Regions from separate parts of the Homo sapiens genome. Here region 2 is linked to region 1. The links are contacts of gene promoters, found by promoter capture Hi-C in blood cells and fetal thymus (Javierre and others, 2016). All regions are on one chromosome and are shown on one strand. Each heading gives the region's core, a stretch centred on a gene start or on the middle of the fragment in contact. The rest is flanking DNA. Distances are from core to core; before and after follow the strand shown.

Region 1 (6,755 bases), core at 2,079-4,578:
GTCTATTCAGTACTAACAATTCCAACCACCAGAAAGAATTTCCCTGCCTAGGCTTATTTGTTGGCACAACACAAAAAAATCTCCTGGGGCTGGGTGAGGTGGCTAGTGCCTGTAATCTCAGCACTTTGGGAGGCCAAGGCAGGCGGATCACCTGAGGTCGGGAGTTCCAGACCAGCCTGACCAACATGGAAAAACCCTGTCTCTACTAAAAATACAAAATCAGCCAGGGGTGGTGGCACATGCCTGTAATCCCACCTACTTGGGAGGCTGAGGCAGGAGAATCGCTTGAACCTGGGAGGCGTAGGTTGCGGTGAGCGGAGATCATGCCATTAGACTCCAGCCTGGGCAACAAGAGCGAAACTGTCTCAAAAACAATTATATCTAATAAAAAAGATCTATTTAACAATGATCAGAATAGGAACATCTTTAATGCCATGCAAATTTAACAGCTTTCTCAGTGGATTTCTCAGTAGACTGTGACCAATGATCTCAAAATAAACTCATATTTACTCTTAAGAAATACTCTATATTTGAATCTTCTTAACAGCAAAAGCCCCAGGAACTTTTTCCTGAACTCCCTAACAGCAGCAGGAAAACAAGAGATTCTCGGCTCTCTTTATTTTTAAAAATCACAATAACTACCCTTGCATTTACTATTTACGTTTACCATATATCACCATTTACTATCACCATCATTTCATAAAAGATGCTTTATTTTAACACCAAGAAAGCAGAACTTTTTTAAAGAAAAGATAGTCCTTCAATTGAATAAATTGAATTGTATAAAAGACTCCCAATATTGTCCTTTTTTTCTTATTTCTGTTCCCTTACTGAGCTGAGCAGTTTGCATAATACCACACACAGGTTAGTCATGTGATTTAAATATGTATATGATAGTAATTTTGATACTATCACTTAAGTCATTCGAAATATCAGATGCACTGTGTGTCAAGTCAGTTATAGAGAACCACTGCTTCAGAGAAATCACATCTGAGGAAGAAACACCGCAGATACACCTCCTAAAAGTTCACCTTTGAAACAGAAATTTTGATACAAACTTCACTTTAACTACAACTGTAATTGTAATTATTACAGTTATTCTCCACTCACTAGATACTGTACTTGACACTCACGTTATTTAGTTGGCTACCAACGTGCACCTGTGATAAAGCTTTCCTATGGCACAACATTCACTTTCTTACTGAAAATGTCAAGAAAACCCCTACACACCTGCAACCATTAGGAAGCATTCTCCAGCTATCAAAAAAGTCACTGAATCGGCTAAGCGACTCTGTGTGGTATACACTAAATCAAAGGGGAAAAGGTGTTTTTTTGGAGGAAAAAAATACTGGATTAGCCATTTATTGAAACAATTTTACCCACAACAATACTTCTCCTTTCACTATATACCCTTCTATGTTGGTTTGGTTATTTTACAACATACATGTATATTGTAATAGCTGTTTTTTTTTTTTTTTGAGACAGAGTCTCACTCTGTCGCCCAGGCTGGAGTGCAGTGGCGAGACCTCGGTTCACTGCACCCTCTGCCTCCTAAGCAATTCTCCTGTCTCGGCCTCCCGAGCCGCTGGGATCACAAGCGTGTGCCACCACGCCCGACTAATTTTTATATTTTTTGTAGAGACGGGGTTTCACCATGTTGGCCAGGCTGGTATCGAACTCCTAACCTCAGGTGATCCACCCGCCTCGGCCTCCCAAACTACTGTGATTACAGGCGTGAGCCAGGGAGCTCGGCCTTGTTATATCTGGTTTTTGTTTTTTTGAGACGGAGCCTCGCTCTGTAGCCCAGGCTGGGGTACAGTGGCGCGAACTCGGCTCACTGCAACCTCCGCCTCCCGGGTTCAAGCGATTCTCCTGCCTCACCCTCCTGAGTAGCTGGGATTACAGGCGCGCGCTTTTTGTATTTTTAGTAGAGACAGGATTTCACCATGTTGGTCAGGCTGGTCTTGAACTCCTGACTTCAGGTGATCCGCCCGCCCCGGCCTCCCAAAGTGCTGGGATTACAGGCATGAGGCACCGCGCCTGGCCTGGTTTTTAATTACGAAGAAAAAATTACTATAGTCCCTTTGGTATCACCTACATTGGCAAAATTGCAGTCCCCCTCCACTCCCTGAAGCCACCAGAAATGACTGCTGTTGTCTACAAAGCCTACAGCTCTGATTTCATCTCAAGATGTGTCCTACTGGGTGACAGCAAATGCCATTTTTTAAAGGCTTGTATCTGTTATAAGCTTGGGAAATATTATCATGGCTTAAGAGGCTCTTTTGACAAAAGAAAACACTGTTCCCTGAAATCACCTGGGCTGTTCACGGGAATCTTTTCCTCGCCCTTCTGGTACTTGGACAAATGATCAAGGATATCAACAAATCAAGGTTCCCCGCATTTGAATGATCACAGAATTTTTGCGTGTTCTGTAAATGGGCTAAAACTACTGGAAACTGATTTCTTTTCGTCATCTCCAGGGCAGCTTGCCCAACGTGCCGCGACTATGATGTCTTAGACTTAACTACTTAAGGTAATACAATTACCAAATTCCTGGAAACGCAAAATTTCCTCAGACAGGTACCGGATTATTCACATCCAACCTGATGCAATTAACCACGTCTCAAGAAAAAAGGACGTTCCGTCCGCCTCGGGCGCCGGCCACAGCAGAAGCAGCACCGGCAGCAGGCCCGGGGTCCGCCGCCTGTGGCCCCTGCTCCTCCGCTCTGCGCCCTCGGGGCCACTGAACAACGCTGTCCCCGCCCCAGGCAAGGGACCCGGGCGATGGGGCGGCAGCCCCAGCCTCTCCCGGAGCGGCGGAAAGGCAAGCACGAGGGTCGCACCCGGCCTGTCTGCACACAGTCAAGCCGCAAGCGGGGTCCCAGAACCAGCTGAACCCCAACACCAACGGACGAAGGCCAGTGGGTCTCGGCGGCGAAGCCTGCGGGTTGTTCCAGAAGCCCCGAAGCCCAGAACGAGGACGGCGCGGGAAGGGAAAGGCGCAGGCGCGGGACACACTGGAGGGGCCCAGGAGCAGAGACGGCGCAGGCGCTGGGCCTGCCGGGGTCTGCGGGGACGCCCGGGCGCGGCAGCGCGGGCGGCGCTGAGGCGATAAACCAACCCGCCAGCGAACACTGCGGGAACCCGGCTGCTGCTCTTACCGCGCTGCACCGCATCGCTCCCTCGCAATCTCCTGGTTTGGGCTGGGCGGTGAGCTCACCCGGTGGCTCAGCCGAGACCCGTTGAGTCCGGCCTCAGGAAAGCAGCCTACCCCGCAGCGCCGCTTGCCGGGCCGCCCGGCCTCCCTCGCGGGCCCCGCCCTTGGCCAGCCCCTTCGCGCCCAGCAGGGCTGCGGCCGTCTGCGCAGGCGTCGTGGAGGCCCCGCCTACATTCCTTCACTGCGCAGGCGCCGCCGTCCCCCACCACCACCCCCTCCCCTTCCCCCATCTCCGGCTCGCGTCCGTCTCGGCACTGGGTCGCGCAGCCGCTCTGCCACTTGGCCGGTCAAGAAAGTAGCCGGCCAGCCGGTGCGCATGCCTCAGGTCTTGGGCTGGAGCCGGGCAAGGCGGGTCCCTTCAGAGGCCCCACTGGGCCCAGCGGAATGATGCTCAGAGTCCGCTAGTCCCAAAAGTTCTCCTCAGCGTGTTTACCGTGTGCCAAGGACTGTGCTATGCATGAGCCAGACAGCAGTGAGGAAAACACAAAGCCCTGTCCTCCTGGCACTCCCGGTACATAAGGGAACAGACAAAAAGAATAAGCGAGCAACATATATGTATATATATATGTATATACATATATATATACGTATATATATATACGTATATATATATGTATATATATACATATATATATACGTATATATATATGTATATATATGTGTATATATATACATATATATATGTATATATATATATATATATATATAAAATATTAAAGAAATTCTGGGGGAGTTCGAGTTCCATCGGCCCCCATCCGGGCCACCCTGCCACCTTAGCGGCTGCTCCTCCCCAGAATGCTGATGCCTAAGAAAAACCGGATTGCCATTTATGAACTCCTTTTTAAAGAGGAAGTCACGGTGGTCAAGAAGGATGTCCACATGCCTAAGCACCTGGAGTTGGCAGACAAGAATGTGCCCGGCCGGGCGCGGTGGCTTAGGCCTGTAATCCCAGCACTTTGGGAGGCCGAGGCGGGCGGATCACGAGGTCAGGAGTTCAAGACCAGCCTGGCCAAGATGGTGAAACCCGTGTCTACTAAAAATACAAAAATATTAGCCAGGCGCGGTGGCAGACACCTGTAATCCCAGCTAGTCGGGAGGCCAAGGCAGGAGAATTGCTTGAACCCAGGGGGCGGAGGTTGCAGTGAGCCGAGATCGCGCCCCTGCACTCCAGCCTGGGCGACAGAGTGAGACTCCTCTCAAAAAAAAAAGAATGTGTGTGCCCAACCTTCCTGTCATGTAGTCCCGAGGCTACTACGTGAAGGAACAGTTTGCCTGGAGACATGTCTACTGGTACCTTACCAATGAGGATATCCAGTATCTCCGTGATTACCTTCATCTGCCCCTGGAGATTGTGCCTGCCACCCTACGCCGCAGCCGTCCAGGGACTGGCAGGCCTCGGTCTAAAGGTCTGGAGGGTGAGCGACCTGCAAGACTCACAAGAGGAGAAGCCGACAGAGATACCTACAGAAGGAGTGCTGTGCCCCCTGGTGCCGACAAGAAAGCCGAGGCTGGGGCTGGGTCAGCAACCGAATTCCAGTTTAGAGGCAAATTTGGTCGTGGACACCGTCAGCCACCTCAGTAGAATTGGAGAGGATTATTTTGCATTGAATAAACTTACAGCCAAAAAGACTTAAAAAAAAAAAAAGAAAAAAATTGTATTATGTCGCAAATGAACCTGTTGCAATGATCATACAGGTTTTTTCCTTTGATAGTTTGTACTACTTTAATAGTTTTTTCTTTTATTACATAATCTTAGTTTCCTAGGAAAACCCCAACTTGGTCGTGATACATGTTTAATCCATTGCTGGATTATTTGCTAATATTTTATTTAGCGTTTTTGCATATATGTCCATAAGAAGTTAGTCCATACTTTTGCCTCCTTGTACTATTTATGTCTGGTTTGGTTTTAAGCCTATACTAAATTCACAGTGAGTTGGGGAGAATTCCATTTGCTTCTTTTTCTGAAAGATTATCTAGGCTGGGCACTGTGGCCTACGCTTGTAAAACTAGCATTTTGGGAGGCCGAGGTGGGCGGATTACCGGAGGTCGGGAGTTCAAGAACAGCCTGGCCAACATGGTGAAACCCCATCTCTACTAAAAATACAAAAAATTAGCCGGGCACACCTGTAATCCCAGCTACTCTGGAGGCTGAGGCAGGATAATTGCTTGAACCTGGGAGGCAGAGGTTGCAGTGAGCAGAGATCACGCCACTGCACTCCAGTCTGGGCTACAAAGCGAGACTTTCTGTCAAAAATAAATAATTAATTTTTAAAAATTATGTAGAAGATAAAAACTTTATGTTCTTTTTAATGTTTGCTGTCCATAAAATCATCTGGGCCAGGTACTTTTCTTTGGTTTTGTTTTTTTGTGAGATTTTTGAGGGGATGGGATACAGATTTTTTTTTTTTTTTTTTTTTTTTTGAGACGGAGTCTCGCTCTGTCGCCCAGGCTGGAGTGCAGTGGCACCATCTCGGCTCACTGCCAGCTCCGCCTCCCGGGTTCACGCCATTCTCCTGCCTCAGGCTCCCGAGTAGCTGGGACTACAGGCACCCACCACCAGGCCCGGCTAATTTTTTGTATTTTTAGTAGAGATGGGGTTTCACCATGTTAGCCAGGATGGTCTCGATCTTCTGACCTTGTGATCCGCCCACCTCGTCCTCCCAAAGTGCTGGGATTACAGGCTTGAGCCACTGCGCCCGGCCGGGATACAGATTTTAAAATAAACATTCAATTCCTTTGATGGTTCTAGATCTAGACAAACTTTTCTGTTTCTCCCTACTTCGTTTTTATGAAGTTATATTTTTCTTTTGAGACAGAATTTCTCTGTTGCAGTCACGTGATCTTGGCTCACTGCAACCTCCTCCTCCCAGGTTCAAGTGATTCTCCCGCCTCAGCCTCCCAAGTAGCTAGGGTTACAAGCATGTGCCACCACGCCCAGCTAATTTTTGTATTTTTGGTAGAGTTGGGGTTTTGCTATGCTGGCCAGGCTGGTCTCGAACTCCTGAGATCAGGTGATCCACCAACCTCGGCCTCCCAAAGTGCTGGGATTACAAGCACCCCACCTGGCCTGAAGTTGTATTTTTCTATAAAACTGCCTGTTTTGATATTTTAAAAAATCACTGGCATAACGTGGTTTATGTAATGTCCTTATGATTTTTGTCTTAATACTGTTTATTTATTTTATATATTTATTTAGAGATTGAGTCTTGCTCTATTGCCCAGGCTGGAGTGCAGTGGCCTGATCTTGGCTCACTGCGACCTCCGCCTCTCAGGTTCAAGCAATTCTCGTGCCTCAGCCTCCTGAGTAACTGGGATTATAGGCACCCACCACCACACCCAGCTAATTTTTGTGTGTGTGTTTTGTTGTTGCTGTTGTTGTTGTTTCTTTTTGTGAGACAAAGTTTTGCTGTTGTTGCCCAGGCTGGAGTATAATGGCGCAATCTCGGCTCGGCACAACCTCCATCTCCCGGGTTCAAGCAATTCTCCTGCCTCAGCCTCCTGAGTGGCTGGGATGACAGGCATGCGCCACTACACCAGG
Region 2 (6,755 bases), core at 1,809-4,308, 240 kb before region 1:
ATTAACCAACCAAAATGGCCCCCCCAACTTATGCCCTGATCATGGGCACATGAAACTTCACATAATGCACAGTATACAGACATGCATGTTTGCCTACTGCCACCTGACACACAAACATGGGCCACCTCAGACCCCCCCATGATCCACAGACAAGGAATGCCATGCTCCAAACAAGGACAGGGCTGTGGCGTGCTAGGCTCTGAGCCTGAAAGGGGCCACAGGAATCATTTCATGTTTGTGCAATATTTAGTTTTGGTTTTAATTTATATACCACTTACTTCAAAGAATTCAGGAGGCCAAATCAGGTTGTATTAAAAAAATATATGCCCCATTGTGCTAAAGGTGTTTGGGACTCCTCTGAGAGTCCCGCCTGAATCCTGTCTGCCTGTGTGATATAGGGCAATGTCAGGTAACCCTCTGAGCACTGCAGCCACACTGTGCTCCCGTGGAGTGTACGTGACATGGAGTATGATCCTGCACAGAACTTCCCCACAGAAAGTCCCACAGAGATCTACAACATACAGAGGGGCAAGTGAGCAGGGCTGGTTATCTATCTTATGGGTGGCTCACCTCGTTGAAATCACCCACTCTGGGGATGTGGTTTTTCCTGGTCTTTCCCAGGACTGCTCCGGAATTGGAGATCACCACGGCTGTATTCCACAAAACATCCCCATGCTCGCTGTCTCGTTCCAGGATGGGAGACACCACCACCATGTCATGGTTCTTCGCCAGCTGGAAAAATGATAAATATGGCAGAGTCCCACTTATAAACCAATTGTTGTAGTTTTTTATCAAAGAAGAATGATCCTACTAAATCAATAGGCTTGGGTCAGAGCAACCACTTGCATTTGTTGTTTGGAACACTAAATACCCTGATGTCCATGCTTTGCTAAATAAGAATCACATTGTCCTGTACACAGTTGGTGGTAGAGTAAAATGGTGCAGCTGCTCTGGAAAACCATATGGGAGTTCCTCAAAAAATTAAACAAGAATTACCATTTGATCTGGCAATCCTAATCCTGGGTATATATCCAAAAGTATTGAAAGCAGAAGAGATTTGCAAACGCATATTCATTGCAGCATTATTCACAATAGCAAAGAGGTGGGAGCCAACCAAGTGCCCATCAATGGGTGAATGGATAAATGAAACATGGCACATCCATACAATGGAGTATCATTCAGCCTTAGATGCCACGGTTCTACGCTACACATGGATGAACCTTGATGATACTATGCTAAATGAAATAAGCCAGTCCCAAAAAGACAAATACTGTATGATTCCACTTGTGTAAGGTATCTAGAGTAGTCAAACTCACAGAAATGGAAACTATAATATTAATAGAACGGTGGTTGCCAGGGGCTGGGGGAATGGGGAGCTATTGTTTAATGGGACAGAGTCAGATTTGCAAGATGCAAAAATTCTGGAGATCCGCACAGTGTGAATATACTTTACACTACTGAACTGTGCACTTAAAAGTGGTTAAAATAGTACATTTTATATGTATATTTTACCACTTGAAAAAAGAATAAAAATAATAATCAAACGACTTATCTATGCCAAAAATAAATTTCTTTGGCATCAAATTCCTTTTGTCTCAAGTAAGAACATCAGTCCCTGGTGACCACAGGATGAGCAGCCCAGCGGGTCATTTGTCCTCTACTCTAATTAGCTGTCATGATCTCTGGCCTTAACAACAGGATAGGGGAGAGGCATGCTCAGAAGGCAACACTAGGAGCCATGCTAAGGGCAGCCTCAGGTCCCTGTGGAGGCGGAGTGTCTCTGGCACCAGCTCTCTTTCACACTCTTCCTCCAGCCCTGGCTCAGACTTATCATCTGCAAAAGTCCCCTAACCAGTCTCCTTCCTCTTTTTTCCATAGCAAGAAATCAACAACCTGGTGAATGAGAGATTTTTTTTTTTCCCCTACAGCCTGAGAACATCGATGTTTGGAATCACAACTGAGTATTGATAAAGTCACCATGATTATAGCTCTGCCCCAAAAGCCCCTAAGTATATGTATAAAACCTGAAAGAGAATACAAAGAAATGAAAAGAGTTATTGTGTTAGAGGTGAAAATAAGGATAAATGACCATTCGTCACCTCATGGGTTTTCTGATAACAGTTTTATTAAGATATAATTCAGGCCAGGTGCGGTGGCTCACGCCTATAATCCCAGCACTTTGGGAGGCCGAGGTGGCGGATCACGAGGTCAGGAGATCAAGACCATCCTGGCTAACACGGTGAAACCCCGTCTCTACTAAAAATACAAAAAAAAATTAGCCAGGCATGGTGGCGGGCGCCTGTAGTCCCAGCTACTCCGGAGGCTGAGGCAGGAGAATGGCGTGAACCCAGGAGGCAGAGCTTGCAGTGAACCGAGATCGTGCCACTGCACTCCAACCTGGGCAACAGAGTGAGACTCCATCTCAAAAAAAAAAAAATATATATATATATATATATAATTCACAGAGCATAAGATTCACTTTAAGATTGGTCAAGTACAGTAGCGAGAGGTGGGAAACAGCAGAACAAGGAGTCACTCTTTTGAAGTGTGCAATTCAGTAGTATTCAGGATATTCACAGAGTTGTGCAACCTTCACCACTATCTAATTTTAGAACATTTTCATCACCCTAAACGGAAACTTTGTATCCATTAGCAGTCACTCCCTTCCTCCCTCACCCCCAGCCCTTAGCCACCACTTATCTACTTTCTGTCTCTATGGATTTGCCTATTCTGGACAGTTTATATAAATGGGATCATACAATATGTATTATAAGGTTTTAATGAAGAAAAATCAAAACCAATTTCTATGCTGATGAGACACAGGCCATGCATCGAAGCTTCTGTGACTCAAGCAAACTGCAGTGGAGCATGCAGAGCTCTGGATGAGAAACTGGCTTCTCTGGTCCCTGAATGCCAGCTCTGCCACTTGCCAGCTGTGGGACTTGCTACAAAAGTCACCTCCGACCACCCTCCCTGGGCTGCAGCTCCCTTGCCTGAAAAAGCTAATGGCCCTTCTGGAGCCTTACACGCCCCAATTCTAAGAGTACGCTAAAAAAAAAAGTGGCAGATAGTCTTATCTAATCTTATCTGGCAAAACAAGCACCAAATGGGTGCATTTTCCATGGTGAAAGGCCAAACCCGGCAGCTGTGGTCATGCTCTGTGACTTGCACATATTTGGCAGCTGCTGCCAGAGGCACCGTTAATGTCCTACCTTCTGACAGAATCTGGTGGTGGGCCCATCCTCTGCTGACTCAGCAAATTCTGTCCAAGGAAGCTTCTCTCTCGTACAGAAGGCAAAGGGCATAGCTATAAATAGGAGAAAGGGCAGAATTATATCCAACATGCACAGCCTCTGAGGGGGGCTCCTCAGCCCAGCAGCGGGAAGTCACTGCAAAAGAATACAGTCTCAGGAGTGCCATGGCCTGGCTTCTGGGTCCTGTTCCTGGCTGTGGGCAGCCCTTACCTCTGGGCTTCATGGCAAAACAAGGGGCTGGGCCAAATGTCTTTCCCAAAGTCTTAAAAACAATTGCAGCAGGGACTTGAACAGATATTTGCACACTCATGTTTACAGGAACATTATTCACAATAGCCAAAAGATGGAAACAACCCAAGTGTCTTATCAACAGATGAACTGATAGGTAAAATGTGGTATATATATATACACAATGGAATATCAGTCAACTCTCTTTTAAAAAGGGAAGAAATTCTGATGCATGCTTACATGGATGAACCTTTAAGAATATGCTAAGACACAAAACAAATACTGTAGGCGTCTACTCATAGGAGGTATTTAGAGTAGTCAAATTTTTTTTTTTTTTTTTGAGATGGAGTTTTGCTCTTGTTGCCCAGGCCAGAGTACAATGGCACTATCTTGGCTCACCTCAACCTCCCCCTCCCAGGTTCAAGCAATTCTCCTGCCTCAGCCTTCCCGAGTAGATGGGATTACAGGTATGCGCCACCATGCCTGGCTAATTTTGTATTTTTAGTAGAGATGGGGTTTCTCCATGTTGGTCAGGCTGGTCTTGAACTCCCGACCTCAGGTGATCCGCCCACCTCAGCCTCCCAAAGTGCTGGGATTACAGGTGTGAGTCACCACGCCCAGCCTAGAGTAGTCAAATTCTTAATGACAGAAAGTAGAATAGCTGTCAGAGGCCAGAAGAGGGGATAATGGGAAGTTACTGTTTAATGGGTAGAGGTGTCCAATTGTGAATGATGAGAAAAGTTCTGGAGATCATGGTGATGATGGTTGCACAACATGAATGTATTTAATGCCACAGACTGTACACGTTAAAATGGTAAATATTGTTAATGTATATCTATATGCCACACACACAAAAAGTTTTAAATTGCCAAAGTTCCCAACCAGCAGATCTCATGCTGTTGGCCAATCTGCAGGGTGGCAGGAGCTCCATTGACTCCTTGGGGAAAGTATCAGAAGGCTGCTGGGGATGGCACTGGGACCCCCCCTCCTCCTAGTGACAAGGAGGCTTCTTCAGAAATAAGAAAAGCTACTCATTAATGATCCCACAAAAAGTTTGGGAACCACTGGACAGGATGAACATCTGCAAGGATTAATGCTCTTATTCTCATGATCTCTGGCCAGGCCCCACCTAGGAGCTAATTCAGTAGGAAATTTCATTCGACTCATTGGTTTTTGCTTTTTTTTTTTTTTTTTTTTTTTTTTTTTTTTTTTCAAACAGTAGGTACATACACACAGATTAACAGTTCAAAGATACTGGTCATCTCCATGCACACCAAGTTCAGAGCAGTCTCCTATGCAGGGGATGGAGGGGACTCCGCTGGGGTGGGCCCTTGGGACCTTTGGCTATGTGCCTAATGCTGCTCTACAGCCCAGCCACACGTGAATATCTGCAGTGCATGGAGTTACCTTTAGTACCTGCCAGTCTGCTGGTGTGAACGGTGCCTCACTGTGAGTAAATGTTTCCCATATCCCCGGTGAGGCTGAACCCCTCACCACACATTCACTGGCCAGTCTGGATTCCTCCCCTACATTTTTTTGTTCATACCCTTTGCCTATTTCCTACTGTGCTATTCGTCTTTTTCTTTCTCAATGTGGAGAACTCAATCCTTGTCTGGACTAATTCAGTATACTTTGTAGATCTCCCACCTCACAATAACCCAAGTGCATTTCTTTCTTTTTTTCTTTTCTTTTGAGATGGAGTCTTGTTCTTGTTGCCCAGGCTGGAGTGCAATGGCACGATCTTGGCTCACTGAAACCTCCACCTCCTGGGTTCAAGCGATTCTTCTGCCTCAGCCTCCCAAGTAGCTGAAATTACAGGAGCCCACCACCATGCCCATCTAATTTTTTTTGTATTTTTAGTAGAGATGGGTTTTCATCATGTTGGCCAGGCTGGTCTCAAACTCCTGACCTCAGGTGATCCAGCTGCCTCGGCCTCCCAAAGTGCTGGGATTACAGACATGAGCTACCACACCCAGCCCAAGTCCATTTCTTTCTTTCTTTTTTTTTCTTTTTTGAGACGGAGTCTCGCTCTCGTTGCCCAGGCTGGAGTGCAGTGGCACGATCTTGGCTCATTGCAACCTCCACCTCCTGGGTTCAAGCGATTCTCCTGCCTCAGCCTCCCAAGTAGCTGGGATTACAGGTGCCCGCCACCACATCCAGCTAATTTTTGTATATTTAGTAGAGACAGGGTTTCACCATGTTGGCCAGGCTGGTTTCGAACTCCTGACCTCAGGTGATTCGCCCACCTCAGGCTCAGAAAGTGCTGGGATTACAGGCGTGAGCCACCACATCTGGCCCCAAGTCCATTACTTTTAGAGGGATTAGCCTAACAGAAGTTTCCAGTTGTCTGCTATTGTTCCAGCTACTTTGAACTAACTTGAGGGGGGTGTGCAGGAAGCTGTGTGATGTGATGGGGCAGTGTTTAACTGGCCTCTGCGAGGGCCTTAAGACCCCTTTAGAATTAACAATTGTAGACAGTATCTCCTAAATGCCAGGCATATGTGAAGCATGGTGCCTGGTAGAAAGAAGAAAACAGCTCCCCCATACGGCGGAGGGGGCCAGGGGAGTCTGAACCAAGAGAAATCCGGTGTGCAGCGGAAAAGTGGTTGGTTATATTGGGGGGCTGGAGGAGGTGGGGTCTGATTTGCATAGGGCCCAGGGGATTGGTTTGACCAGGTGTGACATTCAAGTAGCCCGCAAAAAATCTAGCCCTCCCACCTTAGCCCTTTAATATGCAAACGTGAGCTGCCATGATGTCCTGAACATGTATGAGTTATCTGGAGGCGGTCATGACACTTGGCACAGGTGGTGACAAGGAGAAGAGGGCAGGAATTGCCATGTTGGGTGGACCTAGTTTCTAATTGCCGACATTTGCATATCAAAGCTTGCTGGCCTGGCTCTTTAAGCCGCCTTTTCGGTTAGAAAAGAAATGGTTCAGGAGTTGCTTCTTATTACAGGAAAATTTCCACTGAGAACCTTTACTCCTTTATTCCTTTTACTCCTTTCTAGTTGCCTAAAAAGTATTTCTTTATAACTCCTATCTTCGTAATAGGCAGATCGTCTCCAACATCCCTAAGCTGGTGTCACCCCCTTTATTTCACAGAGAAGGAAGAGAAGCCTCAGCCTCTCAATTCCTTCCGGTCCCAGGAAGCCTGGTCCTAAGAGAGTACCACAGTAAATATCCCGCCAATGGCACCACCACCATCTTGCCAAGCAGGCGGCAGGCACTGCCAGCAACAGTCCTGGGGGCCTTGGTAGCAGGCTCAAGGCTCC

The links. Contacts are between HindIII fragments. The CHiCAGO score rates a contact against its expected background, and 5 or more counts as called.
Region 2: a contact is called between a fragment that was not itself captured here and the fragment with the promoter of SPECC1L-ADORA2A in region 1, in 1 of 17 cell types (erythroblasts). The highest score is 7.3, in erythroblasts.

What each region holds. Positions count from the first base shown.
Region 1 is chr22:24,267,390-24,274,144 of GRCh38, reverse strand. It overlaps SPECC1L-ADORA2A (SPECC1L-ADORA2A readthrough (NMD candidate)), which reads right to left and starts at 3,328. Exons shown (of 20, transcript NR_103546.1): 1 at 3,162-3,328. It overlaps SPECC1L (sperm antigen with calponin homology and coiled-coil domains 1 like), which reads right to left and starts at 3,314. Exons shown (of 17, transcript NM_015330.6): 1 at 3,162-3,314. It also overlaps the pseudogene RPS10P29. RefSeq lists an enhancer at 2,856-2,935 and a silencer at 2,996-3,525. The HindIII fragment of the contact is 24,380 bases long and covers 2,251-6,755 here.
Region 2 is chr22:24,507,301-24,514,055 of GRCh38, reverse strand. UPB1 (beta-ureidopropionase 1) reads right to left here. Exons shown (of 10, transcript NM_016327.3): 4 at 3,213-3,307; 5 at 571-732. Among named protein-coding and RNA genes, the nearest start is that of UPB1, 15 kb to the right of the region's middle. RefSeq lists a silencer at 4,337-4,610 and an enhancer at 6,681-6,730. The HindIII fragment of the contact is 438 bases long and covers 2,840-3,277 here.